6 separate regions of the Homo sapiens genome follow, and all the other regions are linked to region 1. The links are contacts of gene promoters, found by promoter capture Hi-C in blood cells and fetal thymus (Javierre and others, 2016). All regions are on one chromosome and are shown on one strand. The core of a region is centred on a gene start or on the middle of the fragment in contact, and the rest is flanking DNA. Distances in the headings are between cores, read along the strand shown.

The links. Contacts are between HindIII fragments. The CHiCAGO score rates a contact against its expected background, and 5 or more counts as called.
Region 2: a fragment that was not itself captured here is called in contact with the fragment with the promoter of TMEM242 in region 1 in 5 of 17 cell types (fetal thymus, naive CD8 T cells, activated CD4 T cells and 2 more); the score reaches 6.8 in fetal thymus.
Region 3: a fragment that was not itself captured here is called in contact with the fragment with the promoter of TMEM242 in region 1 in 1 of 17 cell types (total CD8 T cells); the score reaches 5.4 in total CD8 T cells.
Region 4: a fragment that was not itself captured here is called in contact with the fragment with the promoter of TMEM242 in region 1 in 1 of 17 cell types (activated CD4 T cells); the score reaches 5.2 in activated CD4 T cells.
Region 5: a contact is called between a fragment that was not itself captured here and the fragment with the promoter of TMEM242 in region 1, in 3 of 17 cell types (naive CD4 T cells, activated CD4 T cells and endothelial precursors). The highest score is 6.7, in naive CD4 T cells.
Region 6: a contact is called between a fragment that was not itself captured here and the fragment with the promoter of TMEM242 in region 1, in 6 of 17 cell types (naive CD4 T cells, naive CD8 T cells, total CD4 T cells and 3 more). The highest score is 9.7, in naive CD4 T cells.

Annotation. Positions count from the first base shown.
Region 1 is chr6:157,322,093-157,325,008 of GRCh38, forward strand. It overlaps TMEM242 (transmembrane protein 242), which reads right to left and starts at 1,427. Exons shown (of 4, transcript NM_018452.6): 1 at 1,320-1,427; 2 at 613-713. The coding sequence starts at 1,407. It overlaps TMEM242-DT (TMEM242 divergent transcript), which reads left to right and starts at 1,542. Exons shown (of 1, transcript NR_187268.1): 1 at 1,542-2,385. RefSeq lists enhancers at 1,190-1,529, 1,710-2,139. The HindIII fragment of the contact is 1,401 bases long and covers 386-1,786 here.
Region 2 is chr6:157,975,972-157,979,167 of GRCh38, forward strand. No RefSeq gene overlaps it. Among named protein-coding and RNA genes, the nearest start is that of SYNJ2, 4.3 kb to the right of the region's middle. The HindIII fragment of the contact is 6,383 bases long and covers 1-3,196 here.
Region 3 is chr6:158,045,017-158,047,883 of GRCh38, forward strand. The region is part of intron 5 of SYNJ2 (synaptojanin 2); the gene reads left to right. Among named protein-coding and RNA genes, the nearest start is that of SYNJ2-IT1, 45 kb to the left of the region's middle. The HindIII fragment of the contact is 621 bases long and covers 1,250-1,870 here.
Region 4 is chr6:158,132,127-158,134,983 of GRCh38, forward strand. The region is part of intron 8 of SERAC1 (serine active site containing 1); the gene reads right to left. Among named protein-coding and RNA genes, the nearest start is that of SERAC1, 35 kb to the right of the region's middle. The HindIII fragment of the contact is 1,931 bases long and covers 582-2,512 here.
Region 5 is chr6:157,927,715-157,930,543 of GRCh38, forward strand. It overlaps SNX9 (sorting nexin 9), which reads left to right. Exons shown (of 18, transcript NM_016224.5): 12 at 885-988. Among named protein-coding and RNA genes, the nearest start is that of SNX9-AS1, 36 kb to the left of the region's middle. RefSeq lists an enhancer at 2,757-2,829. The HindIII fragment of the contact is 2,640 bases long and covers 163-2,802 here.
Region 6 is chr6:157,902,505-157,905,384 of GRCh38, forward strand. All of the region lies in intron 6 of SNX9 (sorting nexin 9), which reads left to right. Among named protein-coding and RNA genes, the nearest start is that of SNX9-AS1, 11 kb to the left of the region's middle. The HindIII fragment of the contact is 3,736 bases long and covers 1-2,880 here.

The DNA of each region.
Region 1 (2,916 bases), core at 177-2,676:
ACACATCAAATTGTAATTACACAGTTATTTGTGTGAATATTTATTTATTTATTTTTGAGACAGAGTCTCGCTCTGTCACCCAGGTTGAAGTGCAGTGGTGTTATCTGGGCTCACTACAACCTCAGCCTCCTGGGTTCAAGTGATTCTCCTGCCTCAGCCTCCCGAGTAGCTAGGACTACAGGAGTGCCACACCACACCTGGCTCATTTTTGTATTTTTAGTAGAGATGGGTTTTCGCCATGTTGGCCAGGCTGGTCTCAAACTCCTGACCTCAGGTGATCTGCCCCTCTCGGCTTCCCAAAGTGCTGGGATTACAGGCATGAACCACGATGCCTGGCCCAAATTTAGATTCAAAGTCATGTTGTGAATAGGAAATGTACCAGATAAGCTTTCAAAGTCTTGTTCCGCTAAAATTTAAGAAAGCACATAAGTACATCCTTCTAAATGAAAATAAAGACTTGGTTAATTTGTACATTTCTAGAATCCATGAGCGTATATAAATTCACATCTTAAAGCAATGTGAAAGACCATCAATATTTTATTTTTTCTACGCAAAAGCTGCCATATATTGTAAACAATAACAATGCTATGAATGGATTTCAGTGTCACCAACCTTATTGAACCATTCAGGGCTTTTCTTTTTAGCCAATGATAATGTTGTAATAAATCCAGCTAGCATTCCCGCTGCAGCAACGGTACCAAGGAAAATTCCACCTGCCAAGAGTTTCGGGGAGGAGGGGGGATATTAAAAAAAATTAAATAAAAAGAGGTTAAAAAGATGTACAAAAGTAAGTTTAAGATACTATTCGAGTTACAATCAAAATCACTTTTGAAATTCAAGAAACCATGGCTAAGCAGCTCTTGCTAACAGTAAATGACAGCGGCTGAGAAACACGCGTGACCGCACGACCTCTGGTTCCTTGGGTCATTCCGAATTATTATTCCCGAGCGCAGAGAAAAGGTTCAGCTTCCCTTCCCCTCTCCCCTGGGACCACAGCGTGAAGTTTCTCACGGGGAGGAGAAGAGACGATGGCAATCAGAAAAGGCAAGGCTCTAGAACAATTGCAGAGGTGACGGGGAAATATGGCACGCCCGGGAGAATAGCTCGCGGGATCTGCCCCCCGCCCCGCCCAAGGGGAGACTCCACCCAGTAAGCGACCTACCCTCCCTGGGCCGCCAGACTCCGCGGGCTAAACTCAGGGGCAAGCACAAGCTAAGGGCTCTCAGAGCGGGATGTGTGTGGGAATGCCCGCTCCAGAGCAAGCCAGGGTCCGGGGTTAACTCACCCCGACGCCCGCACCTCACCACAGCACATCTTACCTTTAACCAGGAAAAGCCGGTCATTCGTGGACCCCGGAGCCTCCAGCCCAGAGGCCGGCTGCCCAGTTGCAGCGCCCGCTGTCTCCATGTTTAGGTCGCCTCTAGTGCGTCCGTCCCCAACTGGGCCCGGGTGGAAGCGAGAACCAGGCGGAGGAGAAAGGTTCCGCTACCGCCTCCTCCTGTGCAATCTGAAGAAGGGTCCGGAGTGCGGCCGCTGTCCCCAAACCCTCCTCCCGCGCCGGGGCCGGGAAGACGTGCTGTGCCCAGCCCCAGGGGCGATGCCCTCCAAGGCCGTCTCTTAGGGAGGATCTTTTGATTTCTCCAAGGAGATCATTGCTGGACTTAAGTGATTACTTTGGCTGTTTGAAAGAACGCTCAGCCCCGACTGTAGGAGGCAGTGAGGGTCGCAGATTGCGCCAAGATTCCAGGCCCCGCCTGTGAGACCCTGGAGCTCATTTTCCTGATCAAGCTTACATTGTGTCCAACGATTTGGCCAGCGCTAACACTCCACGATTCTAAAACGCAAGCCTAGGTCTTCTGTCTGTACTTTTCTAGGTAACTTCCCAACAGTGTTGAGGAATAAGTGACAGGCTTTCTCCCTGGAGGAGAGCCAGCCACCCGGTTCTGCGGTGACGGGTACCTCCGCCGCGGTGTGAGTGCTCGGCCTCCGTCGGGAAGTGGAACACTCACAGGATGACCGAATGAAAGTACCACCCCCGAAAGGAGAGCGACGCCCGCTGGAAGCGCTTGCAGAGCTGCCGGCAACGTTGACCGCTAGCAAGCTTGGTCTTCCGCTGGGAGGCTGGTTTGCCCATTCTGTAAATGGCCGTGGAGAGGAGGAGGCTAGTGGTGATAGAAAATCTTTTCAGCCTCTCAGAGAACAATGACATCTTGTAAAATAAGGCGGTCTCTCTGCTATTTGTCCTGCCCCCCATCACCGGAGGGCATGAGTTTCCTGAGGATGGAGATGGGACTCTATGTTCAGTTTATATCCCCCAGCTTTCAGATATTAACTGGTTACCAACATCAAATGCATGTTGGATGAATGAGTAAATGAATGCATCCATTTTTGCGTCAGTGAAGTGCAGTTAATAGCTCAAACCTGGGCTCGGGTCCTAAACCGCTTCTCAGGTGTGTGAACTTGGGGTAACTTAGCCCCTCTATAGCTCAGTTTCCTCACCTGTAAAATTTAAAAACTGGTAGTAGGCCAGGCGCGGTGGTTCACGCCTGTAATCCCAGCACTTTGGGAGGCTGAGGCAGGTGGAGATCAGAAGTTCGAGATCAGCCTGGCCAACATGGTGAAACCCCGTTTCTACTAAAAATACAAAAATTAGCGGAGTCTAATGATGCGGGACTGTAATCCCAGCTACTCGGGAGGCTGAGGCAGGAGAATGGCTTGAACCTGGGAGGGAGAGGTTGCAGTGAGCCGAGATCGAGCCGTTGCACTCCAGCCTGGATGACAAGAGTGAAACTCTGCCATCCACCCCATCCCGCCCCCCCCACACACAAAAACTGATAGTACCTAACTCATAGGATTACTGTGAGAATTAAATGAAGCAACATCTATAAAGAAGTTAGCACAGTGCCTGGCACATAT
Region 2 (3,196 bases), core at 31-2,530, 650 kb after region 1:
CTCAAGCGATCCACCCTCCTCGGCCTCCCAAAGTGCTAGGATTACAGGCGTGAACCACTGCGCCCGGCCTTTGTTTTTTGTTTTAAGAGACAGGGTCTCGCTCTGTCACCCAGGCTGGAGTCCAGTGGTGTGACCATAGCTCACTGTAATGTCAAACTCCTGGGCTCACATGATCCGCCTACCTCAGCCTCCTGAGTAGCTGGGGCTACAGATGCATGCCACCATGCCTGCCTATCTTTCTTTTAATTTTTTGTAGAGACGGAGCCTCACCATGTTGTCCAAGCTGGTCTCAAACTCCTGGCCTCAAGTGATCCTCCTGCCTTGGCCTTTCAAAGTGCTGGATTACAGGCGTGAACCACCGCACCTGGCAAAAATTTCCAGTCCTGATAGATTAGAGCCTACCCCAAAGACCTCCTTTTGACTTAACCATCTATTTAAAGATCACACCTCTAAATGCAGTCCCATTCTGAGGTACTGGGGGTTAGGAGTTCAACACATGGATTTGGGGGGCAAAATTCAGCTCATAACGGAGTGGATGGGGGGAGGAAGTTTAGATAGAGAGGCTCGGGAAGGCCTCACTAAGAAGCTGTTTTTTGATGGTTGTGAAGGAGGTAAGAGAAGTAGCGTCGGGCCTCTGGGGCAGCTGCCTTCCACATGCAGAAGCCCTGTGTGGGGGCTCACCTGGTGCACCAGCATGAGGACCACGGCGAGCCTGGCTGGACAAGGCAGAGAGCAGCCACATATGGGACGGGAGACCGGCCAGACCACAGAGCGCCTGGACTTCAGCCTCCACAGAGTGAGCTGTGCAGATTGACGGTGTCAGCAGGGCCACTCTGGCTGCCAGCGAGGTTGGGGAGAAGAAGGGTGACTAGATCCAAGCTAAAGATGCCAGACCAGGTGGGGACAGTGGGTGTCTGCCCTGACCTCAAACTGTAGGTCCTGGAGGGAGCATCTATTCCCCCAGTGCTGCGAGTGTTGCTCCCGGCTGGGGTGCCCTGCCCAGGTCGCCCCTCTTCAGAAGCCAGGACCGCCGGATGCACTCAGGCAACTCGACTCCTCATCCTCCCCCTCCCCGTCCATCTTTCTCCCCAGCACAGACCCCGCAGGCACATCCCCTGCTCAGAGTCCCTGCCACAGGGAACCAAACCTGAAACAGTGAGCCAGTGAACCGTGCTCCGAGCCTGGATATGATTTTCAGTTAGAACTGGCAGGCTTGAGGCTTTCTCCTCGTTTTGCAGAGGAACCAGAGAGCCGGTCAGCCAAGGCTACCTCCAGTACTTCAGTCCACCCTGGGTTTAGGCCCAGAGGATCTTGACTATGACTTCTAGATTGTGTGCACCGTGGCCAGCGTCCTGGGCCTTTCCCACTCTCGCTAACTCCCATTCCCACCCTCGTGTCCTCATGGGGAGCTCACCAAGGGCCAGTTCTTGGGAGGATGGCGCCTCCTCCTCCAGCTTGCCCACAGCCCTGTCCCACTGCCTGCTCCCTTCTGCCTCCATACCTGTCCTCCCAACCTCCTCTCCCTCCCTCTGAAGATCCTGCCACCTCCTTTTCAGGGGACTTCCTTTCTCCCCTCTAGAGACAGGTGCCTCTCTGTGCTGGGGAGTGAGCTCTCCTGCTCTGCTCTTTGCTATTTGCCTTCCACCATGTGCAGGTCTGGCCAGTCCTCGAGGGTCTCTGCTATCCCGTCTGCCCCCCATTCTGTTCATCTTGTGTTTCTCCCAGCCTGGCTTCCAGAGCCAGCAGACTACACTCACAGCGCCATTTCTTCCTTATTTCTTTGCAAGCTGGCTTTTTTGCCCAGCCCTCTAGTGAAGCTGCCCCCTCAAAGGTCCCCGTTACCTTCTCACCAAACCAAGTTTCTTTTCTGAGTCCTGATTCTTGGATACCTTCCTGAGGTTTTTAAACCAGTCACCTCTCAGGGCTTTTGCATGTGGGAGGCTGTAGCCCCAGATGCCTGATGGCTGTTTCTCTTACCTCCTTCCGGTCTGTTAAAAAATGCCTCCTTTTCTGAGAGGGAGGAGCCCTCAGGAATGGTTTAGCGCCATCCTCTAGACGATGAGTTTTCACTCAGTTCATGTGAGATCCAGAGCTGTCCAGGTCACGCCCTTGGCCCCTCTGCTTTCTCGGGGTACTTCTTGATCGTCTTTTCCTCCTGCCCCTGCCTTCTACCCCTGTCTGTCTCCACTCCCCTTTGATCGCTGCCATACTCATTTCTGGCCCCTCATCTGTAGGCATTTCCCACTGGACGACCTGCCCACCCGGTCTCTGTCTCCAATTAAACTCGCCTCCTCCTCACTCTGGGATGGTATCGCTGCTGTCCCATTCTCAAAATGCCAGGGTCCTGTCTGACTTCCCACTTTCCTTTGTGCAGCTCATATCATACAATCAGGCACCAAATACAGATTTGTATTTCCTTTAAACCTCTCCTGTCTTACTCGGCTCGGGCTCTGATAGGGGTTAGATGTCTGTCCACTCCAAATCTCCTGTTGAAATGTAATCCCCAGTGCTGGAGGTGGGGCCTGGTGGGAGGATTGCATCATGAGGGTGGACCTCTCATGAATGGTTTAGTACCATCTTCTTGATGATAAGTGAGTTCTTGCTCAGTTAGTTCACGGGAGATCTGAGTGTTTGAAAGAGTGCGGCACCTCCCCCCAGCTCTCCTGCTCTAATCTCACCACGTGACATGCTGGTTCCTGGTTGCCTTCCACCATGACTGTAAGCCTCCTGAGGCCTCCCCAGAAGCAGACGCCAGCACCATGCTTCCTGTACAGCCTGTGGAAGCGTGAGCCAATGACATCTATTTTCTTTATAAATACCCAGTCTCAGGTATTCCTTTATAGTAACACAAATAGACTAATAATACAGGCTTCCGCAATAAAATACCACAGGCCAGTGGCTTAAACAATAGAAATTTATTTCTCAGTTCTAGAAGCTAGAAATTCTGAGATCAAGGTGCCAGCTGATGTGGCTCTTGCTGAGGGCCGTCTTCCTGGCCGGCAGATGCTCAGGCCCTTCCCTCTGTGTCTCTTCTTTTTTTTTTTTTTTGTTTTTCCTTCTTTGAGACAGAGTCGTGCTCTATTGCCCAGGCTGGAGTACAGTGGCTCCATCTCTGCTCACTGCAACCTCTGCCTCCCGGGTTCAAGTGATTCTCCTGCCTCAGTCTCCCGAGTAGCTGGGATTACAGGCACACACC
Region 3 (2,867 bases), core at 310-2,809, 720 kb after region 1:
GTCATGATGGATTCTTAGAATTTGGGAAGGACCCTTTGGAATTCATCCATTCCACCCTCTGACTCTCAGTTCAGGGGTCCTCCTTTTTTTTTTTTTTTTTTTTTTTTTTGAGATGGAGTCTCACTCTGTTGCCCAGGCTGGAGTGCAGTGGTGCAATCTCGGCTCACTGCAACATCTGCCCCCCGAGTTCAAGCCGTTCCCCTGCCTCAGCCTCCAGAGTAGCTGGGACTACAGGTGCCCACTACCACACCCAGCTAATTTTGTTGTATTTTTAGTAGAGATGGAGTTTCACCATGTTAGCCAGGCTGGTCTTGAACTCCTGACTTCAGGTGATCCACCCGCCTCAGCCTCCCAAAGTGCTGGGATTACAGGCGTGAGCCACCGCACCTAGCCAGGCCAGTTCAGGGATCCTCTTCCAGGACCTCCAAAGGGCTGTCCTCCAGGCCACAACTGGGGATGGTTCCGACTCTTGGTGAATTCCTCCTGTATTGCACTGCTGCGTCTGTCTGACTCTAGAGTGTTTTGGGGTGCGCGGGAATATGTCTGATTCTTCTCCGTGTGACTCACCCTCAGTCCTTGGAGGGAGTCTTCTGGTTCCCTCTTCTTCTTCTTGTCTTCTCTAAGGCCTCCCAACTCCTTTGGCCACCTTCCCTCCTGTTTCTAAGACTCTCAATGTTCTCATCTCCCTCATCTAAAAAATGACACTCCTTTTTGTCGTTCCCCTCTTGGATTTCATTTTGGTCTTACCTTGACCTTCGTGCTGCCTCAGATGTAGCCTGACCCGCCATGGGATGACTGTGCCTTGGTCTGTCAGGGGCCAGGAGCAGTGGACCACGAGGTCTCAGCTTTTTGGCAGCTGTTTCACCCTCTTAAATTCCTAACATTTGTGCTGCACCAAAGCCTCCATGGTTTCTTCTTTTTGTTTCTTGTTTTGTTTTGTTTTTGAGACGAAGTCTTGCTCTGTCACCCAGGCTGGAGTGCAATGGCACGACCTCGGCTCACTGCAACCTCCACTTCCTGGGTTCAAGAGATTCTCCTGCCTCAGCCTCACAAGTAGCTGGGGTTACAGGCACCCACCACCATGCCTGGCTAATTTTTTTTGTATTTTTAGTAGAGACAGGGTTTCATCACGTTGACCAGGCTGGTTTTGAACTTCTGACCTCAAGTGATCTGCCCGCTTCGGCCTCCCAAAGTGCTAGGATTACAGGCGTGAGCCATCGCGCCCGGCCTCCATGGTTTCTTCAAAACAAGCTTCAGAAGGCTTTAGTGTTCCTTAATCTTATTAAGGATTTGCTAACCTTTGGGCCTAATACCTGTGTTTAGCCTCTAAACACCACTCATCATCAAAGAGAGATGAAGTCATCTTCACAGGGGGCCGGGAGGGCAGCGGGAAGTGGTGGTCTACCGTCACCGGCTTCAACTGTCACTATCAAGCCTAAGGCTGCTTCTAGTTATTTTTCTCCACTTTGAACTTTTTCTCTTCCTTCTTCACTTAGGTTAGATGAAAAGTGCAAAGATTTTGGGGTGAGTAGCTTGCGTATTAAGCTGCAATGCTGTCCCTCCTTGACAGCTGCCGTTGGAAACCCAGGAGCCCAGCAGGATGGGGCAGGGTTGAGCAGAGGGTGGTGGATGAGGATTTGTCTGCATGTTTTCCTGGGTAATGGTACCTTCAGTACTTCCTGACTCCATTTCTAGCAGCCGTGTACCTTTAATAAATTTCATTTTTACGTGTAAATGGGCTGTGCAGTTTATAAATAGCCACATTGAAATTTTACCCTTAAAGCAAATTGCTCCCTGGTCTAGCTAGTTCGAGAATCTATTTATGATCTGTGTCTGTGGTTGACAACGTTGCTCCCCTGGTCATTGTAGAAGCTTCCCCCCACCATATGCTGTATAGACACGTGCCTTGCCAAGGTGAGTTCAGTCTGTCTTTTGAAGTTTCCTGCAACTGAACCAAACGGAGGAGGATGCCGAGTAGAGCAGACCCCTCTTGCCCTGCCTTCACCTCTTTCCTGCCAGAAACCATTCGCCAAGTTTGTGGAGTCGTGGCGCTGGATGGGCTTGTGTGTTTGTACCTTCCTTTTTTCCAAAAAGGACATGAGATGGCTTGTAGTATAACAGTTTCAAAAATAAGTGAAGAGGTCTGGATGAAGGGCAAGAGTCGAATTGGTGCCCACGATGCATGCCGTGGGTCTTGTGTGCGTGGGAAGGAACCTGACGCTTGTTCCAAGCTTCCCCGCAGCCACCACAGAAAGAACCACAGTCACAGCCAGTTTATGACAGTGACTCAGAGCACGAGCTTTGAAGCGACGCAGACCTGGGCTCAAATTCAAACTCTGGCTCCCCTGCTTTGTAACCATGTGTGTTTGAGAGGCTCTTATCTGTGCCAAGCCTTAGTTTACTTTTCTGTAAAATGGGGCTAACAATATCTACCTTATAGGGTTCTAGAGAGGATTAAAGAGCGTAATATAAGAATTTGGCTGGGCATGGGGGCTCATGCCTGTAATTCCAGCAATTTGGGAGGCCAAGGTGGACAGATCACTTGAGGTCAGGAGTTTAAGACAAGCCTGGCCAACATGGTGAAATCCCATCCCCACTAAAAATGCAAAAATTAGCTAGGCATGGTGTCAGGTTCCTGTAATCCCAGTTATTCAGGAGGCTGAGGCAGGAGAATCACTTGAACCTGGGAGGCGGAGTTTGCAGTGAGCCAAGATTGTGCCACCACACTCTAGCCTGGTCAACAGAGTGCGACTCTGTCAAAAAAAAAAAAAAAAAAAAAAAAAAAAAAACACACAGTATCTAGAATCTAAAAAGTACTCAAAATGGCAGCTGCTATTGATACTAATAGAAACAAATGATAACACCCA
Region 4 (2,857 bases), core at 297-2,796, 810 kb after region 1:
ATACAGCCCACCTGCTGGCAAAAGAGGACAACTACAAGGTAATGGCTAAAAAATGTATATATTAATATAAAGCCCAGTGTTTTCCATAGGAAATATAATCCATAAGATTCTGCATTTTTAGTTAATTTATAAGGTCCATGGTTCAGTAAACCAACTAAAAATAATTTTTGGCCACTCTATACTTTTTATTCATGCCTTCTTCTCGTATATAATATTATTTTTTTCTAAATTTAAACATGCTTGGATCTCAGAGTCACATCATTTAAACTGAGGACTGAGATGGGGCTAAGTCATGAAAAGTCGTCCTTCTCTGGCAGAGACAATGGTAAATAGTGGATTGGTAAGCTTTGTCGGGGGGTAGGAATTTTTAGTTGAAGATTTATCGCCACATCCTGGCTCCCCCAAACCCCTCTTCCCACCTTGTACCCTTGAATTATCTATCTCATCTAGTTCTACTCTAAATTCCCCAAGGACAGAGAGGAGAGAAGGCAAAGAAAAATGATCTAGGACTTTCATTTGTCTTGGCCATTTCCGCAGTGTGATGTAGAGTGCAGTTCCCATTTCATTCTCACTTTTGGCGAAGCTTGTTACCTATGAATTGGCAGATTTTGTGGCAGTAAGAAGTACAAGCAAAAAGGAATGAATACAAAGGAACAAACTCACAGTATGGTTGTATGGATTATATTCTAAACCCTAATGTAAAAATAAATGTACATAGTTACTGCTACTTTATACTGAACTAAGATATGACAAGACTAAATAAATTCATAAAGATTTAAGAAACACCAAACATCAAATTCTATGAGTGCAACAAAAAATAATTTTATAAGGATTAAGGAAGTGCACAGGAAAAGCTAGAGAATGACAATATTAAAAACAATAATAAAGAGTAGGTACAGGCCGAGCGTGGTAGCTCACGCCTGTAATCCCAACACTTTGGGAGGCTGAGACAAGTGGATTGCTTGAGCCCAGGCGTTCAAGACCAGCCTGGTCAATACAGTGAAACCCCATCTCTACAAAAAATTAGCTGGGCAAGGTGGTGCACACCTGCTGTCCCAGCTACCCGGGAGGCTGAGGTGGGAGGATTGCCTAGCCCAGGGAGGTCAAGGCTGCAGTAAGCCATGATCATGCCACTGCACCCCAGCCTGGGCAACAGAGTGAGACCCTGTCTCAAACAGACAAAAAAAAAAAAGGAATAGGTAGAAAAATGGAAAGGCAACAGTAATATAAAAGAGCTAATCTCTGGTGTTAATTTTTTTTTTTTTTTTTTTTTTTTTGAGATGGAGTCTCTCTCTGTCGCCCAGGCTGGAGTGCAGTGGTGCAATCTCAGCTCGCTGCAAGCTCCGCCTCCCGGGTTCAAGTTATTCTCCTGCCTCAGCCTCCTGAGTAGCTGGGACTATAGGCATGTGCCACCACGCCCAGTTAATTTTTTGTATTCTCAGTAGAGATAGGGTTTCACCATGTTAGACAGGATGGTCTCGATCTCCTGACCTCGTGATCCGCCCGCCTCGGCCTCCCAAAGTGCTGGGATTACAGGCGTAAGCCACTGCACCTGGCCCATCTCTGGTGTTTCTTCATAAAAAGTTACAACCTTAGAGCTCTGTGATTTGTGCAAACTAACTGGGCTTTAAAATGATGTTCATTCTAAAGCAAGAGTTTTTAACAAGGGTCCTTAGGGGTATGGGGTAGATAGAATTCAAGGCAGGTAGGGTGTAAACTTGGATGGAAAAAAAAATTACCTTTGTTTTTTCCTAACCTCTAACTGATATTCTGCATAGTATTCAGTTATGAACACAGACAATAAACCACAGTAACACTAGCAGTACCTGTGATTCTAGCAGTAAGGGAAAGCACAGGTATTTTCATATCACATCTCATGTTGCAGCTATCTGAAAATACGGTTATATTCACTCTTCCTTTCAATGCCAACTATCACCAAACGGTGAAGTTGCACATTCTCATACTAGTGATCCCAAATCTACACTGCTTTCAGCATTCCCTAGCAACAATGGTTTGAGATCAACAGTTCAATGTTCTTATTCAGTGAAGCATCAACAGCATTCACACTGATGTCATTAAAAAATAAAAGGTACATATTGAATGGAACCATATGAAGCTGCCTCTTTCCCCAGCTCTATCCACTGAAGGCCTGAAAGCAATGACAGCAGCAATGAGCTTACCTAGCCCAGAACTTGGTTACTAAATACCATTAGCCCTAAAAGGAACCAAGCCTGCTTAAAAAATCAGCTTATTCTAGGGCTAGAACAGGGAAAGTCTAAGATGAACATTTTCTAATACCAAAAAATAAGCAAGAACTCCAAAAATAATGAATGAAACCATTTACAAAAGACATGGGAGACAACCTGAAGGGGCTCCCACAGCCAAACCTGGGACAATTTGAACATCAGTATGAATAAGGATAGTAAGAGATTATAATCTAGTGAAGAAAAATAACCATGTGTTATCCCATATGGATTAGAAAAGCAGAAAGGAGAAATGAGAGGAAGAAGAAAGCTTTTCCTACAGAAGAATACTAAATAAATGAGTAAGGAGTAATAAAATTAGGGGGAAAAACTCAGCATTTTGCAACCACCTAACAATAACTGTTATTCAGGCAACATTCATTCAAAGATTATTATTAAATAAAACCACTGGCTGAAAGTTTGAAGAGCAACAGGACAGTCTCCTAATCTCAAAGTATCTCCTCCTCCTAAAATCGTGTATTAATTTCAAATACATAAATATATTAACATTCAAGCAGAGAAAACTGGCAGACATCACTTTAACCAAGTGAACAAAGGAAACATCAGCCAATAAGTGTTGAGCTGGCATCACGTGCTTCTGGGCATGACATACT
Region 5 (2,829 bases), core at 233-2,732, 610 kb after region 1:
AAGCTTTTTTTTTTTTTTTTTTTTTTTTTTGAGACGGAGTCTTGCTCTGTCACCCAGGCTGGAGTGCAGTGGCACGATCTCCGCTCACTGCAAGCTCCGCCTCCCAGGTTCACGCCATTCTCCTGCCTCAGCCTCTCGAGTAGCTGGGACTACATAATTTTAAGCTTTGTTATCATAAAATTATTGCGTATGTGTTACCAAAAGTATAGACAAGTAACACACACACACACACACACACATAACCCTTCAACCACGCAGAGAGAAAATCAGTGTTAATATGTTAGTGTTTAGTCTCCCAAATCCTCCTCTGTACGTATGTAATTATAGGAAAGATTGTTTAAACAAAAATGACCTCACACTAGACATTTTGTTTTATAATCTGCTTTTTTCATCTAACAGTATATTGTGATCTTTTCAGGTTGGTAAATACACTTTTGACATCCTTAGAAAGAACTGGTATCTTTAGGATCACTTAGGTGATTGTGTATCCAGGTTATTGTCTCCGTTTCATGGAGTACTTGGAATGAATGGCCAGCTAGCATTAGCAACCCCTGTTATTCTTTTATAGATTTGATGGTCCCCCCAGTGATTGGAATTTTCCTAAATAAGATATTCAAGAAATTATTATTTTATTTACTTTAGAATAATTTTAAAATTCACAAAGAATTGTATAGGCAGAAAGGAAGCGAAGTTAAAATATAAATCAGCGCTTTTTAAGTAGTTCTTTAAATGTCTGCATCAAGCCTGTATTTAAGGCTAACTTAGTGAAAGGGGAGTTGTTATCATGCAAGAAAACAAGTGTCTGTGGTTATATTTGGCCCGAGTATCCCCACAGCAGTGCTGTTTCTCCTGCTTATGTGACTGACGGCCGCCTTCACCCACAGAGAGCAGAAGTGCGAGGCTGTGGGGAAGTTCACCAAGGCCATGGATGACGGCGTGAAGGAGCTGCTGACGGTGGGGCAGGAGCACTGGAAGCGCTGCACGGGCCGTAAGTCCACTCCTCACAGTGCACTGGGCTCGTAGGGGGTGATGCAGGCTCAGTTTTATGTCCCTTATCATAGAGGGGAACCTGCTGCCTCGAACAGAAGTGTATTTGGTGGACGGCAGTAATGTCCCTCCTGTGATTCTGCTTGATCTCACTTCACCTGAGTTAAACCACAGAAAACTGACCAGCAAAGCCAGGTTAAGAAATCTCATAGGGAACACCACGTTCACTTAATTAGTTCCAGTAATTTGGGGCTTTATAATCTTTGGAAAATTAATCATTTTTGCATGTTTTCAGAGTGCTTGTAGTTATTCTTAGTCTCATGATTTTATTTTTTAATCTTCATCCATTTGGTAAGATGTTGTGTATTTGACTAAAACCATAGTGTTTAGAAAAACCAATATAGTTAGTAGTAGAAAATATGTCACAGCAGAAGCACTGCCGAGGGGAGAGTGTCGCTGTCAGTCACGGCTTTCTGACCACTCTGCTGTGTCCCTAAGAACTTCCTGCCTCCCTCCTTCTCCTTTGTTTGTAGGCTTTCATTCTGCTGAAGGTTTTTCCTGTATTTCCTAGAACTGTGCAGCTCTGTCACCACACATGTGGCCCAGGATAGAAAAATAGTCCCGTATCCAGCTGTAGGGCTAATGCCACGGGCTGCTGCCCTGTTACACCCACAGGCTCAGAGGCTGCAGAGTGACTTGTCAGGCCCTGAAATGCTGCGACTGCACTGCTGTCCCATGCGCAGATGCCTTTAACTCCCTTAGAGTCCTAGGACTTCTCTCCTTTATATCTGGTCTGCCCTTATTGCTGTGTCTTAACCTCTAGAGAACAGGGCCTTCTAATCTATCACTAAGAATTTTCTGGCCTTCACCTCATAACACCATACAGGAATATTGGTTGTATTCAGTTAAAAAAAATGTTTTATATTTTGAATTATGAGTAACATATACCTACTTTTCTATCAGCCTTTGATGCTCAGCATAGGAAAGGGATCTGTTCTTGTAATGATTTTTTTAAAGGTGATATTTTTACACTAAAAAAAGAAAACAATCAGAATTTGAAATCCAATAATAATTTTAAAGAGAGGAAACTAAATATGGAGTGACTTGTAGATGAATTAATAAGATAGCACAGCAAAGACAATGTCAGTATTACTATTCAATCCAGATCTGAAAATCCAAAGCCTTACATCAGGAGTCAGTAAACCATGGTCCGAGCACCATATTTGGCTTGCCACTTATTTTGTAAATAAAGTTTTATTGGAACACACCCATGCCCATTTATTTGTATATTGTCTTTGGCTACATTTGTGTCATAATGGTAGAGTTGAGTAGTTTCAACAGAAACTTGTGGCTCCATAAAGCCTAAAACGTTTACTATCTGGCACTTTGCAGAGGAAGTTTGCCAGGCCCTGCCTTACCTCAACCATTGGCCAATAACTACCTCTGCCTCTTCCTCTACTAGCAGTAATACCAGTACCAGTGGTGCTTTACCATCCACATATTATCTTATACCAACAAAACAACTTGTAGCATACCAGCTGTTCGTGCTTGAGGGGCAGACATCAGGAATAACAGTTGTTTCTTTCCCATGGCAAAGAAATATGATGCTGTATCCTAAATATATAGAATTAGCCCTGAGAAAATAATGTATACAAATGCAGCATCTAGAAAACAAAACCTGTGTCAAGACTTTAGTCATAGAGGATGACTCAGGAACAAAAAGCAAAGTTGACGTTGTTCTCTAAAGCAGAGGCCCCCAATCCCCAGGCCATGGACTGGTACATGGACCATTACCGCACAGCAGGAGGCAAGTGAAGCTTCATCTCTATCTACAGGTGCTCC
Region 6 (2,880 bases), core at 318-2,817, 580 kb after region 1:
AGGCAAACTGATGCCCAGAGAGACGCATCGAGTGTTCCAGTCAGGAAGCCAGGCCCTCAGGCGCCAAAGCACGTGTTTCAGCTCCTGTGCCTAAAAACGTGGTCCGGAGCTTTGTGTTAGCTTAGGTTTCTCTTAGATTTAAAACAAAAAAAAAAGTGTTGTGTTTTATTTTTTTGTTTTGAGACAGGCGTCTCGCTCTGTCACCCAGGCTGAAGTGCAGTGGTGCGATCTTGGTTCACTGCAACCCCAACGTCCCGGGTTCAAGCAATTCTCGTGCCTCAGCCACCTGAGTAGCTGGGATTACAAACATGTGCCACCGCGCCCAGCTAATTTTTGTATTTTTAGTAGAGACGAGGTTTTACCACGTTGGCCAGGCTGGTCTCAAGCTCCTGGTCTCAAGTGATCCGCCCGCCTCTACCTCCCAAAGTGCTGGGATTACAGGCTTGAGCCACCACACCTAGCCAAAAAAAAAAAGTTTTTAACAGTACTTGTAGATACCCTACTTAACAGGAAAGCATGTGGGCACCAGTGACCACTGTAGGATTCTTTGGAGAGACCTAAATAAGGCTGTAGTCTATGCCAGTGTAGCTTGAAGGAGATATATTAGTAATTTATGACTTCCATCAGAATTTTCAAGTACTCCTTCCAGCAGTTATGTTTAGTTTATTTTTTGAAATTACTAATACTTTTTCCCAATATTCCAATTCCATGATTCAAGGCAGATATCAAAGAATGTTAATCTGTGTCTGGAAAAATTAAAAACATAACATTTGACATATATTTAGACATCAAGATCTAGGTCTAGATCTAGTTTAATAAGTCCTACAAGTTCTCCAAAGTATATTTAAATAGCTTCAGTGATTAAATGAGTTCTCTTTTGACTGCACACTTTTGCTGCCTCTTACCCAGTTTCTTCCATTATATATTTTCCTGCTCAATTGCATGCATAATAAAGTGAATAATTCTCTGTCTTGTTAGTCAACTGTGTCTTGTTTCAGAGTCAAATTTGAAGTTTTCAGTCATGGTCAGTAGTGATGTGCATCATTGTCAGCTGTTCTTTAAATGTGAATATAAAGTATATTGAAAATTCATATAAATTAGCCCCATTTTGAAAACGAAGGAAGCAGAGACTGAGAAAAATGAGTGGCCACGTTTTCATGGCTGATGAGTGAGGTTCCAGCTCATGCCTGGGGGTCTCTGACTCTGGTTTTTGGTGCTCTCCTCTGCTCCACACTTGCTCTCTGATTTGCTTATAACCTTAAGGCAAGTTTCGTGACCTGTTGGAACCTCAGTTTCTTCATCTCGAAAGCAAGGAGGTTGGCTTTAAGAATTCTTTCTGCTCTAAAATATCATTCCAGGCTGAAACCACATTAAAGCAGTCCTAACTTGAACCTGTGCCTCTGAGGCATCTCTGTCTCTCTGTAGTGCTGTGAACGATTTAACACCCTGTGTATTTGTATTTAACTAAACTGTATAAATGAGTCACTTAAACTTAAAACAATTATAAAAAATGTTTTTAAGTATTAACACTTTTTCAGCAATTAATCCATTTTATATGACAGCTGTATTCTAGTCATGGAACATAAATCTTATACTAGAAAAAGAGATCTGAAATTAAATATACTTGAGCACTATAAGAATTCACCTTGGGCCAGGTGCAGTGCCTCATGTCTGTAATCCTAGCACTTTGGGAGGCCGAGGCAGGCAGATCACGAGGTCAGGAATTCGAGACCAGCCTGGCCAACATGGTGAAACCTCAATCTGTACCAAAAATATAAAAAAGTAGCTGGGCGTGGTGGCACGCCTGTAATCCTAGCTACTTGGAAGGCTCAGGCAGGAGAATCGCTTGAACCCGGGAGACGGAGGTTGCAGTGAGCCGAGATGGCACCACTGCACTCCAGCTTGGGCGACACAGAGACTCTGTCTCCAAAAAAAAAATAAAAGGCATCTTGATGATGCTGAAATAATTAATACATTGCTGTCCTCAAATTTTTCTGTGGTCCATAACAGTGCCCAAAAATTGAAATGCTTACAAGCTGGTCAAGGAGTTGTCATGATATATAATCCCCACAGAAGCGCACCTGTAGTCCCAGCTACTTGGGAGACTGAGGCAGGATAATCGCTTGAACCAGGAGGTGGAGGTTACAGTGAGCCGAGATCGCGCCACTGTACTCCAGCCTGGCGACAGAGTGAGACTCTGTCTCAAAAAAATAAATAAAATAGAGTAATTAATAAATAAAAGTGTTGCAGGTTAGCCTAATTCATTAAGCATTCAGTATGCTCCCAAAACTCCTCCAGGTCCTGAAAACACAAATGCTTCCTCTAAGTCCCTCTGGCTGCTGTAATAGGTAAATGGATAGCGGCAGTCAGGTGTGATGAATAGAATCACAAAATATGCTCAAAATGCCTAGGAAGACTCTACCTGCGGCTGCAGGGAGTACTTCCAAAGAGAGGATGACTTAGTTGCCAATGACTGAAATGTACTGAGTACATACTAGGTTCTTTACATAAATCTTTAATTCCCTTATCACCTTAGAAGGTAGGTCATTCTGGTCTCATTCTTCCACAAGGAGATTTCAGCCCCTAAGGCTACCTAAGTGTTGGAGTCAGAATTCAAACCCCATGCCATCCAGCTGCAGGACACATCTGGTCTCTTGTGTAAGCTGCGTTTTAAAGGAATGTCTAGAGAAAGGAGACTCAAGGGAAGTCAGCTGAGAATGCAGGAAAAGAAGACACGGGCCCCTGAGAGCATCACACTGGCCTTTGGCTTGGCACATGAATGAAAGTAGAAGCAATGCGACTGGAACTTCGTAGAAATAAGATTCCTTTTCCCATTGTAGATATTTTGCTTCCTTTTCTTCTGTTTACTAAAAGAAAAAT